Regions from separate parts of the Homo sapiens genome. Here region 1 is linked to region 2. The links are contacts of gene promoters, found by promoter capture Hi-C in human tissues and cell types (Jung and others, 2019). All regions are on one chromosome and are shown on one strand. The core of a region is centred on a gene start or on the middle of the fragment in contact, and the rest is flanking DNA. Distances in the headings are between cores, read along the strand shown.

Region 1 (3,006 bases), core at 455-2,954, 490 kb after region 2:
GACAGACCATTCCTTACCTTTCTTGATCACGGACTGGTCTAGGAGGCTCATTCCCGGCTCGTCCATTGCCTGCAAATAGCAGAGGGCAGCGGTGAGGGCGCATAAAGCCCTAGCCGCCCATGTCTTCCCAAGCCCCTGCCACCCAGGGTCTCTGTCTGCTCCGCCCAAGGCGCACCAGCTTCGCTTGGGGCGGCGACGGGCAGGCCCAGGAATCGCTATGTCCAGGCACTGAGCTGGAGCCCTGGGCATCTCACTGTGCAGTGCAAAAAGGGAATTTTGAATCTTACACTGGTAACTATTATGCTTCTCTTCGCCCCAGGTGCAGGCTGCCCCATGGATGCCACACGTGGCAGCGGGGAGAAAAGAAGTGATTCGGTCCCTGCCGAGGGTTGCTGCCACCCACGCACTGCTGGCGGACTCAGTGCCAGGCAGCCTTGATGGCCAGGCAACGTCTAACCCAGGAGGTGGGACACATCCTCGGAGTCACCAGTGAGATGTGGCGAGCTGGGAGAAAAGTCGGCTTCCTGCATTTGTCACCTTCTGCCTCCAGCCATGGTAGTAAACCACCGCGGCCAGTCCCGACCCATCCCGGATCCCTCGGGTCTCACCTGCAGGTCCTCCAGACCGGGGGCCGCCGCCAGCCCCGGAAGGCCGAGAGGTGCGTCTGCCAGGCCGTGCGCGCCGTCGGCCAGGCCGTGCAGGAGCCGGGGCACGGCAGTGGCATAGTCACGGCGCGGGTCAAGGCCCAGGGCGCGGGCGGGCGGTGCCAGCAGGCCGGGAGGCTCCTCGTGGGCGCGGGCGGCTGCGCGGGGCGCGGCCCAGGCGGCCTGAGGAGGCTGCGGCTGCGCCAGGGGCGCCAGGCCGCCATATGGGTCCCCTGCCAGGTGGGGAAAGGCTGCGGCGGCGTCGGGCGCCTGACCGTAGGGCAGCGGTGGCTGCGGGTAGGGCGGCGGGAAGTAGGGCGGCTGGAATTCGGCGGCAGCTGTGGCGGCCGGCGTGTGGCAGAGCGGGGGCGCCGGCCCGTAGGCCGCCTGGGGCAGAGACGACAGGCGGGCCCCGCCGGCAGCTGCTCCCAGCCCGTCGGGGCGCTCCTGGGGAAGGAGAGGGGTGCCTTAGGTGACCCACTGGCAGCTGAAAGGACCCCAGCCTGAAAGGATCCTCCTCAGCTCGGGAGGGTTCAGCTGCAGTCCCTCCCGTTTCTTGGGGCCCGAGGTTTATTTCCGAGCCACCCGCGGGCGCAGGAGCCTCAGGCTGGGGACAGCGGTCACTTGCGCATCGCGTTCTCAGCTGGCGAAGTCCCTGCGGCCCCCTCCCTCCGAGATTTCGTTAGCGCGGGACAGGAGGGTTGGAAAGTCCAGCACTCAGGCGCCCCGATCCCCCGGCCGAATATGTCCCGGGCCCGAGACTACTCACCATGGCGGAGTAGGTGTGCACCAGCATGGGGCGGTGAGTGCCGGGCGCGAGGCGTGGCGGCGGCGGAGCCCTAGCCCGACGGCGAGCGCTGCGGGCAGAGGCGCCGGGAGCCGGCACAGCCCGCGGAGGTCACGGTGCGGTAGCTGGGTGCGACCCAGCCGGGATCCTAGTGGGCGTGGGGTCCTCAGCGGTGGCCGTTCCCGGGCGGGTCCATGGAGGCAGGACGGACGGGCACTGATCGCACTTGGAAAAGTCGGTCAACGGGTGCCCAGCGCCCGCCCTTCCTCCTCTGAGCGTAGCCTGCTCCATGCACTCCAGTTATAGTGGCGGGGGCGCGCCGGGCCTCCGGGGGCGCGCATTAAAGAGACAAGCTATGGCAGTTCTCTCCCTTTTCCCCAGCGGCTGCCACAGGGGAGGCAGTGGCTTTGGCGGGATCGGGTAGGGTGGGTAGGGGGCGTGAATTCAGCCCACATTGATCAGAGCCGCCTTCTGGGCTCGCAGCTCGCAGCTGCAGTGAAACAGAAATATTCGAGGCTGGGACGCAAGGGCCCTACATTTGCCTGGCTCTATCACATCCTTGCCTTTAAGCAAAGCACTATTCTTCGCTGGCCTCAGCTTCCTCGGTAAAATAGGTATCAATCCTTTCTCTAAGCACCTCAAGAGACTTTGGATGAGGTGGGTAATCGGGAACGTGGAAGAAGTTTGTGAGCTGAAGACTCCAGCCTATCTGCTCATGCGCACACAGTGTCAGTGCGTGTGTTTAGGGGGTCTACCATCACAGTCTTTCCTGAATGGTTCTGGATCAAAATCCCTCGAAGGTGCCCACTTCGCTCTCAGGCTTCCTGGGCTGAAAACTTCCAAGCCAAGCCAGGCTCTGAGGGAGTTGGAGACAGAAGCTGGCCAGACAGAGAGAGAGACTTGCCTGGGATGGGTTTGGGTATGAGCTCCACCTGACAAGGGGCCAAGATATTTCTGAAGCCACAGGGTCCTGGGCTGATTGAGTGTGGGCATGAGATACCCAGAGACTGTTGAGTGACTGTGTGTAACTGACTAGCATGGATGCCGTGTGATTGTTACACTAACATGCGCAGGCTACATGTTCCTGTGTTACCATGGCAGGCACTCCCTGGCTGTCAAGCAAGTTCCAGTCTCTGTAGTCACTCTCTCTTTCTCCCCAAACCCAACCCTCCCCTCCTGACAAGCAGAGACAGGGATTAAAGATGGACAAATGAGAGGAATGCTAAGGAGAACAGGAATTAAGAAAGCAGAAGAAAGATGTTTTTTAAAAGCAAGATGTGCAGACCAGGGCAAAGTAGAAATAATCACAGCAGACTTATTACAGAATGTGCCAGCCTCTGTGCAAAGTGCTTCACGAATATTGGGTTCTTTAACCCTCACAGCAGCTCTATGAAAGAGATACCCATATCATCCCCATTTTCAGGGGAGGGGTGAGGCATGGAGAGGTTAAATGGCTTGCCCAAGGTCAAGCAGCTAAGTGGCAGAGCTGGGGTGATCTGCCCCTGGCCCCTCTCTGCTCAGAATCACTATTCTCTACTGCCTCAGACTCAGGGGCTTGGATTTAGTCCTGACTCT
Region 2 (3,035 bases), core at 516-3,015:
CCAGGCTGGTCTCGAACTCCTGACCTCAAGTGATCCACCTACCTCGGCCTCCCAAAGTGCTGGGATTACAGGCATGAGCCACCGCACCCAGTCAATTTCTAAGTATTTGATGGTTTTCACCACATTAATCTAACTCAAAACTGCAGCTGCCATAGCACCACTAAAATCATTTGGTTTTTGAAAAGTTATGCTTTTGCCAAGGATTATTATAAAGAAAAATTCAGCCTGTGTGCTGGATATCTTGCAGGGAAGAAACAACAGGATATGTTTGTAAGTGAACACTACACCATGATAAGGCCTATGTTTCTCTTATTCCTATTTCATAAAATGATCTACAACAAAGACATTTTCACAGAGGCAAACTGGAAAGGAATCCTTCACACAACACTCTTCTATTATCTTGAACGTCTGAATAGCTTTTCCTTTGGAGAACTCAAATGCTTCCGCAAACATTATCTTATTCTTACAACAATTTAGTGATCATGCCTATAATCCCAGCACTTTGGGTGGCTGAGGCAGGAGGACTGCTTGAGCTCAGGAGTTAGAGATCAGCCTTGGCAACATGTGAGACCCCATCTCTGCAATAAAAGAAAATAATTAGCTGGGTGTGGTGGCATGTACCTCTAGTCCCAGCTACTTGGGAGGCTGAAGCAGGAGGATAGTTTGGGCCCAGGAGTTGGAGGCTGTAGTGAGCTATGATCACACTACTGTAGTTCAGCCTGGGCAACAGAGTGAGACCCTGACTCAGAACAAAAGAACTCCAACAATTTAGTGAGGTAGGTGAGGACAGGTATTACCACTCTTATTTACAAGGGGAAACTAGGCACACAGAGATTAAACGAATTGCCTAAGGACACGGAGCAAATCAGTGGGAGACCTATTACTAAATTCCAAGTCTCTGGCTCATATTCTAGAGCCCTTTCTACTCTCAAAGGCAATAAATTCTCAATAGGCTTTTTCCATTTGTGATCTTTCAAAAGTTCCTCCATTAAAGAACACCTTAAGCCTTCTCTCTTATAGCCCACGCTTGACTAGGAACTGGGATGAGTTTTAAACTATTTTTACACAATATTTTGCACATATCAAGAAGGCAGATGTGAGACATAAGCTGTATAATAAAGTCAGAATAAATACATAAATTAAGAGAAATGAACAGGTTAAGTATTAATTCATTCAATATAATTTTTTACATATTTTAGAAGCCATGTATCAGAATAAAAGTCATAACATTTTAAAGTTTAAATCAGAGTCCAATTTATCAAAACCATAAGCTATATTAATTTTCTTTAAGAATATGAGGATCTCTGTTGGTTGGCAGAAGGTTAGAATATTACTTTCAAGAATAATTCTTATTTATTTATTTATTTTAAAGATTGGGGTCTTGCTGTATTGCCCAGGCTTGCTTTAAACTCCTGGGCTCAACTATCCTCCTGCCTCATCCTCCTGAGAAGTTCGGACTACAGGTGCAAACCACCACATCTGGCTAATATCAACAATAATATTATCACTGTGCCATAATACATCATATTCCTGATATATACTCTGTTCACATTAGCATTCTATAGCCAGCAAAAAATTCCATGGCTAGAGATAATACTTGCAACATTAATACTTTCAATCTTAATTCTCACTTAACTGAGTTAGAATTTCTCTTCATATATGTTAAAGTTACATTGTAATAATCATCATTCTATCTATTTTTGTTTTATCCTTCCCCTCTTTTATTTTTAACAGTGTGTGTGTTTGTGTGTGAGTGTGTGTGATGGGGAAAAAAGAACAATTGTGTGATTCACAAATGGCATAAAACACTGATTGTATTACAAATAAGAATGGTGGCACTCTAGTAAGTAAGATAATGGAATGTCAAAGGAAACAAACTTTAGAATACAAACATGGAAAACATGCTAAAATATTAATCAAGCTATAGCTTGTGGCATGTGATTCTTCTTTCCCAAGTATTTTGAGAGTGTCATTTACCCCCAGTAGAATTCTATATCAACTGCCTCTAAGTCCTTTTCCTATTCCTTCTTTTTTTTTTTTTTGAGACGGAGTCTCACTCTGCCACCCAGGCTGGAGTGCAATGGTGGGATCTCGGCTCACTGCAACCTCCGCCTCCTGGGTTCCAGACTACCTTGTCTGGAAAGGCCCTGCTTGGTGTTTTCTATTTAAAGGGGAAAACCAAACATGTTATGTTGATAGCAATGCCTGGCTCTATTAAAGATAAATCCTTCATTTAATTTCCTTATTGTAATTCAGACTAGCAGGATTCTCCTGCCTCAGCCTCAGGCGCCTGCCACCACGCCTAGCTAATTTTGTATTTTTAGTAGAGACAGGGTTTCACCATATTGGCCACGCTGGTCTCAAACTCCTGACCTTGTGATCCACCTGCCTTGGCCTCCCAAAGTGCTGGGATTGCAGGCATGAGCCACTGCTCCCGGCCTATTCTTTCTTTTTTAAAGAGGGAATGGGGTTGGACCCTGGGCTAAGAAATGAGAAAGCTCCTGGAAAACCTTAATTGCAATTAATTACTATAGAAGATCAAGTCTGTTGCTAGCAAAACCAAAGCTTCCTTTTGTTAAACTCCCTGGGATCAAACTGTATCCATGAACTGGGTCGGACTGTCTATGCCAAAATTCTTTCTTCATTACAAACTAACCAGTGTTTTTACCAAATCCCACACCAAAACCATTTTCTTTACAGGAAAGACTACATTGTCTGGAAAGGCCCTGCTTGGTGTTTTCTATTTAAAGGGGAAAACCAAAGACACTATGTTGATAGCAATGCCTGGCCCTATTTAAGGATAAAGACTTCATTTAATTTCTTTACTGTAATTCAGAAGCAACTTCCAAGACTTCTCTAAGTTACTGAGAATAGGTGTGCCTTTGGGTCTGGGACAACATTATCATATAAATTTAGATTACAGAGACGCTCGTCTTAGGTCTCTTCTGTAGGTTCAAATAGCAATAGCTGCTCTTTTACTCTGCAAATATTAAACAATTGTAAGGTTTCTGTCCAAGGATCCCAGCAAGGAAGCC

Evidence for each region. The method cuts DNA at HindIII sites, captures the fragments that hold promoters and counts their contacts. A contact is called where the count stands out against the background at its distance.
Region 1: a contact is called between the fragment with the promoter of TFAP2E here and a fragment that was not itself captured in region 2, in 2 of the 25 tissues and cell types used here (H1 embryonic stem cells and liver).

The regions. Positions count from the first base shown.
Region 1 is chr1:35,572,012-35,575,017 of GRCh38, reverse strand. It overlaps TFAP2E (transcription factor AP-2 epsilon), which reads right to left and starts at 1,704. Exons shown (of 7, transcript NM_178548.4): 1 at 1,414-1,704; 2 at 609-1,091; 3 at 18-69. The coding sequence starts at 1,440. TFAP2E-AS1 (TFAP2E antisense RNA 1) reads left to right here. Exons shown (of 3, transcript NR_183387.1): 2 at 320-658. RefSeq lists enhancers at 253-999, 1,241-1,740. The HindIII fragment of the contact is 7,667 bases long and covers 1-3,006 here.
Region 2 is chr1:36,066,833-36,069,867 of GRCh38, reverse strand. AGO3 (argonaute RISC catalytic component 3) reads right to left here. Exons shown (of 19, transcript NM_024852.4): 19 at 1-3,035. Among named protein-coding and RNA genes, the nearest start is that of TEKT2, 16 kb to the left of the region's middle. The HindIII fragment of the contact is 8,465 bases long and covers 1-3,035 here.